2 separate regions of the Homo sapiens genome follow, and region 1 is linked to region 2. The links are contacts of gene promoters, found by promoter capture Hi-C in blood cells and fetal thymus (Javierre and others, 2016). All regions are on one chromosome and are shown on one strand. Each heading gives the region's core, a stretch centred on a gene start or on the middle of the fragment in contact. The rest is flanking DNA. Distances are from core to core; before and after follow the strand shown.

Region 1 (4,940 bases), core at 2,294-4,793, 530 kb before region 2:
GACCAACGGCCTCAAGGATGGCATCGTTTTCCTCTTAAAACGCCAGGACTTCAGCCTGGTGGTCAGCACCAAGAAGGTCCCATTCTTCAAACTCTCCGAGGAATTTGTGGATCCCAAGTCACACAAGTTTGTCATGAGGCTGCAGTCTGAGACCTCAGTGTGACTGTGCAACAGCAGGGGGAGTGGGAAACTCTGGGGGGTCCTGAGGGGGTGGGAGGGGGCTTGGTTCTCAGGCCCAGCCACATTCCTGCCACCCTTCTTCTTCTTGCTCTTTTTTTTTTACTTGAATTAACGCACCCCCACCTTCTCTCCTCGCTTCTTCCTTATTTTACCCCATGTGAACCTGGAGAGACCATCCTGCTGTCAACAGTACCTGGGAAGGACTCCCACCTCACCAACAACTTTTGTATTACTCTAGGCCCTGCAGGAATCAGTGCCTCTCTCCCTCTTCTTTCCCTAGTCTTTTCCCAGATTACAGTCTCTCCTGAAAGGGCACAGGGCCCTGCTGATTGTACTTTCCCCTCCTGAGCCCCGACTCACAAATCCAAGTTCTTAAAACATTTCTCTTCAGTGGCCCAACAGGGTTTCTCTGGGGCACATGGACATGACTCCAGAGAGCCACAGTGCCAAACTCCTCCAGGGCAGCAACTGGCCCTCCTGTCCCTCACCCCAGCCACAACAAACCCTGGGTTCTAGGGCAGGGATACTCCTGCCACACAGCCCGAGTTAGAAATCTCCTTGCTAGGAGCATTTGCTTCCACATATATTTAGAGCAAAGAAGGATCCCATCCTTTTCCCAGAAATCTCCACCTAATGTTTTTGGTTTGTATGGTCACGTGACCATAGGCAACCACGTGGAAACCCTCTGTGACCACTTTTCCAGGGACTTAGGGGAAGGTACCTTTCTTCCAATGTGTCTTCCTAGGCAGCCCCTGAGGAGGAGGGCTGAATAGATCCCTGAGGTTTTGGAGAGACCCCCATCACTGACTCCTGCTCCCTAACCCTACCCTCACTTTCGTCCCCGCTCTTCCCAGTGAAGGATGGTATGTAGACTCCTGTACAGACATAGTGGCTTGCAGACCCTGACCCAGCCCCTGTGGTCTTAGACAAATGTTTTTATTTTTGTCACCAGCCACCCCTGTCCTGCCGCCTTCTCTCGACTCCAGAGACCTGTTGCCTCATCTCTTTTGGGGAAGAGCCGGCAGCTCCTCCTCATCCCCTGCCTTAAGTCCAGTTCTTTGCCTCAGGGGTCTCGTTTCCTTGGCCTTCCAGGGTCCCCACCCCTTTTCTCCCTGCCTGATTCTCTGAGCTCTGGGCTCCGTCTGTATTGGGTTGAGGGGCAAGGATTACTGCCTTTTGTAGGTACTTCACCCCTCACCCCATTTTAGCTTCCATAGTCTTTGCACCAAATCCAAATTCTTGATAATTTAGATCTCATTTTGAGCAAAATTTGCTGGCCCTCTAATAAATATTTTCAATATAAATCTGAGCCTTTGACTCAGACATTTTTGCCAAGGAGAGTAGAATTAGGAAGTACCCATATACATCCAGCCAGGATCCACATGGAGGACCTTTCTGATGGCTGCAATGACTAGGCCATTCCTCTGAGTAACTCACAGTGTCCTTTTGTAGGCCCTTCTTTTCCCTGAAAGACTGGTTGGTACTTACCTTGCAGAGCACATCCTGGGATAAGATCCCCAGTGTCTCCCCTGGGAGGCTCCCCCTCTGTGTAGCACCAGCCCTGGGAATGATGGAGCCTAGTGATCGGGGTTTCTCCTGCTGTCCTTTCTGCAAAAGTTCACTTGTTTACCCACCGCATGCTAGAGAGGAGCTCATTGGCCAATGCTTACCTTGTCCCCAAAGGGGTGGGTTGTGGAGCTCACTTAGGCAGGGCCTCTGGCTGGGGCCAGGGTTATGAGATAGGCCTGTATGAAATATGTCCTGTTCTGGGGGTCTGTCTCTTTTCTTCTCTTCAAAAACTTTGTGTCAGAGAGTCCCTTCTGAGTCACATAAATACCTCACTATCCTGGAAAACAGGGCCTGGATGGTGACTGGGGTCATTGCCTTTGTGGACAGGATGGAGTGTGGTGTGGTCTGAGGAGCAGGTTGGGGTGGGGGAGAGGGAAAGGATTTGGGATCTTAGTTGCTGCCCTAGGTTAGGGGCTGGGGAGTGTTTATTTTAAGATCCTGCCATGTTTTTAATCACTGTGATTTTTTTTTCATTCCCCTTTCCTAAAAAAAATTTTTTGCCTCCAACTCTCTAAGCACTAAGGGCTGTGCCTGAGAATGGTAGCATTTTGGTCTTTTGCTTCAGAACTGTGGTATCTTTGTCTTTTTTCATTATTATTATTATTATTATTATTATTATTACTATTGTTTTTTAAAATGTCAGGATGAATTGTCAGACATATGGCCATGTGTTTGTCCTCTGCTTCTCCCCTGTGGGAAGTTGTCTCCATGCTGTGAACTGCTGTGGGGTGTGCAGCTGACTCAGTCCCTCTGAGCAGTTTCCCCACTGTGTCTGTCCCATCATGCGCTGGATCTGCTCATTCTCCTGCTGTGGGGGTATGCCCACCTCTTACCCCCTTGACACCATAGGGCTGCTGTGGCTGGGCCTCACCAGCACTGTCTTTTGTGTGACTCATGGCATCCTCGTTCATCCCCACCGTGCCTAGCAGGCCTTCCTTTTCACCACCTCGGAACGCTTGCCTTTCCTCCCTCCACAACAGGACGCTGTGCCTCAGTCCTTCACCTACCTCGCCACTCTGCCACTGTCCCCATTGGTCCTTTCTCCTAAACTGGTCTTTGTGCTCTCTTTGTTTTTTCTTATTTCCCTCTTGTCTCTCATTTTTTCTTCCCATTCCCCTCCCATTTCAGCCCTTAACTTTTCTCTTTCCCATCTCCACTCAGTATTCCAATGGCAAACCCTGATGATGTAACACCTGCGATGAGACATCGGACTCTCCGGAACTTTCTCATCTGACACGTCTTTTTCCCAGGGTTCGTACTTCTCCTCCATTGGTCCCAGGCTAACTCCCCTGTTCCTCTGTGGTGTCTGTCAGTCCGTCTGTCTTCTCTTTCCTCTGCCCTTCCCACAGGGCAGTATCTGCTGATGGATTCAGTCCTGGTGTGTGATTGTTGTGATTTGTTCTTCCGTGCGCAAAAGGAAGAGGGCTTTTTGAGTCCCTTCCAAGTGAGATTGTAAATGTAGAATTTTCCACTGTTGGATCTAGATTTTTTTTCCTTTTTTTTGGGGGGGTGGGGTTACAGAGCTGAGACCTTGTGCATGCATGTAGAAAATTGTAAAATGTAAATTTTTTTTAATATATAAAAAGCTTGTTTCTACAGTTTGCAGTGGATCTAAACATTACGGCAATTTTAGGATTTTTTTCTTAAACATAGGAACTAAAACTGTACAAATTTTTTTTATATAAAATAAAGACATTTGACTTTTGTGGGGGCATTCTGTTGCTTTTCTTTCTTTACAGGAATGGGAGCAAATGAGGGCCAGGGAATAATGAATATATTCCTTGTTAGGGAGGGAATGGGCAGGAGGGGGCAGTGTGAGCTCATCATTGCTCTGCAGGCCTTCAGGGTGTGTTGGAGAGAAATGGGAAAATGAAAAAGGAAATTGCTTATTCTGAATCCTGATTCTAAAGAGAGAGAAACAACAATGTGAGGGCTTAACCACTTCCTGGTGTAGTTGTCAGGATAGAGAAAGAAAGATTACTTCCTGGGTCCACCCTCCTGAGCAAGCTTGTGTCTGTATGGCCTCTAGGGCAGGAGTGGGTTTCTAAAACGTATTTCTAAAACATAAAGTGCCATAGGAATTTCAGGGGATAGTTGAGATTTCAGTCAGTGGTGACAGCCCATCACAATTCATTGAGACAAGTTTCTGTAGTATATATATTAGTTCTAAATATGTAGAGAGTTCAGTGCTCTGTTGTCACTGTAATGCATGTAATCAGGTACTAAAATCACCCTCAAGAGATTGGGTCCCTTCTCCCAGTCTTACCTGGGCCTGACCTCTGTGACTTTGGGCAAGATGCTTAGCATGTAAACAGCCTGCTAAGGTTAAAAACAAGCATTTCTGTATGGAGGTGGCCTATTCACTAGATTTCCTCCTCCTCTCCCCTGCCTCATACTCTGCCAGGCTCTGGGGATGCAAAGGCAAGAGAGGCTCCATCCTGGAGGATGACCCAGTTTACAGGGGTGACAGGCTGGGTGACCCTAGTGCAAGGCTTCATGGCGTGTTCTCAGGCAGAGTGTAGACAAACCCTGGCTGGATTCCAAGGAGCTCGGGGAGTTTCCTTCAAGAAATCTAGGAAGTTTGTTTAAGACTCAAGATGGGGGAACACACTCACCTTGAGATTACATTTTGTTCATCTAAGTATTCCTAGAATTGAAACCAGTTCCTCGCATATAGTTGGTCCTCAATAAAAAATTGTTGCATGAATAATGAACTGAACAACTAACAATACAATAGGGGCTCATGAAAGGGATCATATACTTGCTTCTCCCTTTAAAATTGCACTCCAGTCTTTCTCATGTGAAAACAAACAAAAATACTTCCCTTGAAATTGCATCCCCATTCTCACGGCTCTGTTCTTTCTGTAACTAGGTTTGTAGAATAGTTTCACTTGCTGTTTCCAGTTCATTTCAGAGTCAACTTGTGACTTACATTGTGACCAAATTTCTACCTTAGCATGCCTCTGAAATTATTCTTGTTCTCAACAGCCAAGTATAGTAAACACCTTTTAAGTTTATTCTTTATTTAGTGCCTATGATGTTCCCAGCCTGATACTAAAGTACTTTCTCTGGTAAAGATACTGGATATGGTCCTGCCCTCACTGAGCTAACCTTGGTGGACCCTTGAGAAGGCTAGTTAACCTCAGGGACCTCCTCTTGTAATGCTGGCCCCAGGAATTCATAGATTTAAA
Region 2 (5,362 bases), core at 769-3,268:
GGCCAATCTCTGCCCCTGTATCAACTCATCACTCTGCTCTGAAGTCCCAGGAGGTCAGGGATTCCCTATGCTAAGACGGTCTGATCCAACAGCTGGTATAGGTTAAACACCTGGAATCTTCCACTCGACTAATTTTAATTAAATACCTACTGTGTGAACTACCTAGACACCGGACAAAGACAATTTGACACATTTCTTCAAGAGACTACATTCTACAAGGAAGGAGCACATGGAAAGGGACCCAACTGAGATGGGAGGGCAAACCCACTAACGGGGGTGAGGCCTGGGAACTGCTGGGGAAGGGACCAGCTGTAACTCAGAGCAGGCTGATTTTGATGGGAGAATGGGAGCTGGCTACAGGACAGGAAGGAAAGGGGAGAGTACACCCCAGGAAGAGAAGAAAGCACATGAGATGGCCTGAAGCAATAACAGAGCCCAGCCCAGCCCAGCCTGCCAAAAACTACAGGTCAGTCGCTTATTGTGGCTGGAACATATGTTGTAATACAAAGAAGTCTGGAAACCAAAGCTGAAAAATTAACAGAGGCCAGTGGATGAAGGGCCATGTATATAAGTCTAAAAGCCTAGAAATCATTCCAAAAGCCTGGCAGAGCGGGAAAAAGTGTAAAATTACAGGACTCAGGCCAGGCACAGTGGCTCATGCCGGTAATCCCAGCACTTTCGGAGGCCGAGGAGGGTGGATCACAAGATCAGGAGTTCAAGAACAGCCTGGTCAATATGGTGAAACCCCATCTCTACTAAAAATACAAAAATTAGCTGGGGTGTGGTGGTGCACACCTGTAATCCCAGCTACTGGGGAGGCTGAGGCAGGAGAAGCTCTTTAACCCAGGAGACGGAGGTTGCAGTGAGCCGACATCACGCCACCGCACTCCAACCTGGGCAACAGAGCAAGACTCCGTCTAAAAAAAAAAAAATTACAGGACTCAAGGTAAAATCCAGACAAACCCTGATGACAGTGCCTCCTTGAGCAGACACTTAACATCTCTGATCCTTTTTCTTCATCTTTAAGATGTCATTAATAACTTCTTTATACGCATGGAGATCAAATGAGATGACATATGTAAATGTGCTTTTTTTAACTGATGGATTGAAATAAACAATAAACCCAGTATCAATGAAAAAATATCACTATTGTGCCTACTGGAAGAATAGAATTGTGAGGATTCTATTCTCACAATATCCTCCTCTGCGACTAGAGGAGGGTGTACCCTGGACACAGCACTGATCACCCAGCTGCCTCTGGAGATCCCAAGGCCAAGGCCACAAGAGCAGCTGAGCAGGGACACAGTTCTTACTCTCTCACCCCATGAACCCCTCACAGCCACAGAAGCAGAGAATCAAGCCCTAGGAAATACCTGAGCTAACACCCTGACTGCTTCAGACCAGACCCCAGGAGAGGCCAGAAATCAGCACCCAGTCCACACCTCAAGTTGGCTGCCTAGCCTGGGTTCCCTGCCTCTCCAGAACTTCCCCTTTGACCCTTGACTTCAGAGCCCTGCCCAGCTCTACTCCCTCCAGGCCCTGCACAGCAGAGGGGAGCCCAGGAAACTGCAGCTCCTACTCTCAGAAGCCATTTACCTGCACTGCACCCACTGGTGGCCACAGAGAAGAATAACAGGAAGCAGAGTCTGGTCATTGTCCTCTAAGGAAAAACAAGATGCACAAGGTCACTGGCTGGCCCTTCCTTTGTCATCCTCTCGTTCTTACTTCCTAACCTTTCTGAGTCAGGAATCCTCAAATGGAAAGTGATGGGCTCATGAGCATTCTAAAACCTCCTGGAATATGCCCCACGGCTGTCCAACACTACAAATACCCAAGGGGCCATGGGCTCATTTCCCTGAAACTCTAAATCTCTAAAACTGAGACCTGAGCTGGCATCATTGCTCCCACACACATGGATCAAAAACATTTTTCTCACCAGCATGGACAGCATCCTTACAGATGCCAGGAGCTGATAGTTCCCTTCCTGTGGACACTCGGAGCTCCCCTGCAGAGGATCCTGATGAAGGGTGAAGTGCTGGTCCCTTTATGTGGAGAGCTGTGGAGAGCCAAACCACCTGAGCCCTGCCCAGCCCAACCCTGAGCAGCCTAGGCTGCTAGCCCCTCCCTCTGAAGCCCTTCCCTCTGAGGGTACCTGAGCCTGGGACCGTGGAAATGAGAAAGGACGTGCGACTGGCTGGAGGAGCAGGGAGCTGTGTTCCTGGCCACACAGGTGACTGTCGCCATCTGAGGAGGGGCATCCTGCTTTGCCAAGGCAGGCCATACAATGTAGCAGTATCTAATCAGATTCGTGGATAGGTCACAATCCTCCCCTGCGTTCTCCCTCTCCCACCTCCCCCAGATGCCCTGGCCCCCTAGACACAACTCTGTCAAGAAATCATCCTTTTAGACTGAGGTGACACCTCATGAAAAATAAATTAATTAATTAAGAATAATAATTGGCCAGGCACAGTGGCTCACACCTATAATCATAGCGCTTTGGGAGGCCGAGGTGGGCGGATTACCTGAGGTCAGGAGTTCAAGACCAGCCAACATGGTGCAACCCTGTCTCTACTAAAAATACAAAAATTTAGCTGGGTGCAGTGGCGTGCACCCGTAATCCCAGCTACTCTGGAGGCTGAGACAGGAGAACTGCTTGAACCCAGGAGGTGGAGGTTGCAGTGAGCCAAGACTGCTCCACTGCACTCCAGCCTGGGCAACAGAGCAAGACTTCACCTCAAAATAATAATAATAATAATAATAATAAATAAATGGGAAAAGAAGACATCATCCTTCCAATCTTTCCTCCAATTTCTCTATGAGGCCTTCCCTGACACCCCCATCACCAGACAAAGCTGATGGATCCTTCCTTTGTCCCACTATACACTGTCCAAACACTAATTATTGCATGTATCCTGCTGTAATTTTATTGTTTTATTAACTCTGTTTAGAAACAATTTGAAATTTATTAAATGTTGCAAAAATAACAATAATATAAAGCCACATATATGCCCTTTACCTAGATTCAACTATTGTTAATATTTCACCCCATTTGCTTTATCTTTCGTGTTCTCTCTCTCTCTCTCTATATATATATAGATATATGTATATAAAATACACCCACACACACAAAATTTTTTTCTGAACCATTTGAAGGTAAGGTACATACATCATGGGCTTTTACCTTTAAATAAATGCGTATGGGTTTTTTTTATTTTGTTTTGTTTTTTGACACAGAGCCTCACTCTGTCACCCAGGTTGGAGTGCAATGGCATGGTCTCAGCTTACTGCAACCCCCGCCTCCCAGGTTCAAGTGATTCTCCTGTCTCAGCCTCCCGAGTAACTGGGATTACAGGCACCCACCACCACGCCCAGCTAATTTTTGTATTTTTAGTAGATACGGGGTTTTGCCATCTTGGCCAGGCTGGTCTTGAACTCGTGACCTCGTGATCCACCTGCCTCGGCCTCCCAAGTGCTGGGATTATAGGTGTAAGCCACCATGCCTGGCCAACTGTGTGTTTTCTAATAATAGGAATATGTCATGTATAACCACAGTACAATTATCAACATCATATTATTAAAAACTCTTTTTTTGGGCTGGGCGCGGTGGCTCACGCCTGTAATCCCAGCACTTTGGGAGGCCGAGGTGGGTGGATCATCTGAGGTCAAAAGATCGAGACCAGCCTGACCAACATGGAGAAACCCGGTCTCTACTAAAAATACAAAATTAGCCGGTCGTGGTGGTGCATGCCTGTAATCCCAGCTACTCAGGAGGCTGAGGCAGGAGAATCACCTGAATCCAGGAGGCGGAGGTTGCAGTGAGCCGAGATCACACCATTGCACTCCAGCCTGGGCAACAAGAGTGAAACTCCATCTCAAAAAAAACAAAAAACAAAAAAAACTCTTTTCTTTTCTGTAGAAACGGGGTCTCCCCATGTTACCCAGGCTACTCCAGAACTCCTGACCTTGATCCTCCTGCCTCAGCTTGCCCAAGTGCTAGGATTACGGGCGTGAACCACCGAGCCAGCCTGTTAACTCTTTTTAACATAACTGATACTTCCCTAGAGTATCATCAGCCCAGGGGTCATGGTGAGTTAGCATTAATGAGACAGGAATTTCTCTGGCTTTCATGCCCTCCCATTGTAAGGAGACTTCTGGTCCCCTTTTAAGTCCATAATCCCAAGGGGCATCTTGTGTGTGCTAACAAACATTTCTCCATTCCACACATACTCCCAGCCCACCCTGACTCCTTTCAGCACTGCCTACTGAAACCACAGTAGGCACACACCACAGCTGAACACCAACCGTATGATTTGGCATCCCTGCTGCCTCTGATGCTGGATCTGGTGTCGGGACAAGTTGCTGGTGTTTAAGGCACTGCTTCCTCTCACTCCCAGGCCTCCGGCACATCTCTTGCTATTCAAGGCATGGAAGTCATCCACCTCATAGGGTGCTGGAGAAGGGAAACGCCTCACTGCTCCCATGATGGGCACCAGACCAGGACATGTCTCCAGGTGTCTCAGTGACCTCAGTGACACTGTTCTTTCAGTGTCTCTTGCAGTCTGTCTCTCTCTTGGACTCAGACAGGAATCTAAGGAGACGAGGATAGAGGACAAACCTGGAAGATGTCATACTACTCTGATGGACCTTTGTCTCTGAATACTAAGATACTATTATTGGAAAGATTTTGTAAGCTCCTTCTCCTGAAACTTTTGAATTTTTTTATTTGAGTATTTATATAGGTATTTGCTTAATACCTGTCTCCTTCTTTATAGAGACAGAATCTATGTCTGTGGTTGTCCACCAGATGTCCAGGCCTATGCACAATGCCTGGCACACAGTGGGCCTTCAATATGCATTAGTTGAATGAAAGAAATTGACTCCAGGTGGTACTAAAAAACACACATGAACGCTTCCTCCAATCCAAAAAAATTTTAGGAATGAAAATGGCCAATGCAAAATTTTACAGTTTTCTCCCCTTTGTTGTAATTACTCTAAGCCATGTTTCCACCATCAAATACTCAATAAAAGTTAGAATGCATGCAACAGCTTGGTGTTTACCAATGCTTTGGAGGAAAAAAGGAAGAGATGTGGTGTCCTGTTTGGGAAAGAACAACAGGACAAAGGAAACCAGACAAAAACAATGGCATCCCCAAACAGATGGATGATAAGGAATAGATGAGAGCCCAGGAACTGGCTGAAATGCAGAAACACACAGGAGAAAAATAGGTCTCCTTGGCACTCTTCAGTTGAATTGGGTAATTTTCTACAGTAGATTTTTCCCGCAGTACCAGAACTACTGGGAATGGCAATGAAAACGTAGCTGGAAGAAAGGGGACCTGAGGCTTCCATTACATATTCATAA

What was found. Contacts are between HindIII fragments. The CHiCAGO score rates a contact against its expected background, and 5 or more counts as called.
Region 1: a contact is called between a fragment that was not itself captured here and the fragment with the promoter of ITLN2 in region 2, in 1 of 17 cell types (M2 macrophages). The highest score is 7.1, in M2 macrophages.

The regions. Positions count from the first base shown.
Region 1 is chr1:160,425,216-160,430,155 of GRCh38, forward strand. It overlaps VANGL2 (VANGL planar cell polarity protein 2), which reads left to right. Exons shown (of 8, transcript NM_020335.3): 8 at 1-3,455. The coding sequence ends at 163. Among named protein-coding and RNA genes, the nearest start is that of VANGL2, 27 kb to the left of the region's middle. RefSeq lists an enhancer at 4,653-4,882. The HindIII fragment of the contact is 421 bases long and covers 3,334-3,754 here.
Region 2 is chr1:160,952,791-160,958,152 of GRCh38, forward strand. It overlaps ITLN2 (intelectin 2), which reads right to left and starts at 2,019. Exons shown (of 8, transcript NM_080878.3): 1 at 1,937-2,019; 2 at 1,597-1,660. The coding sequence starts at 1,951. The HindIII fragment of the contact is 24,751 bases long and covers 1-5,362 here.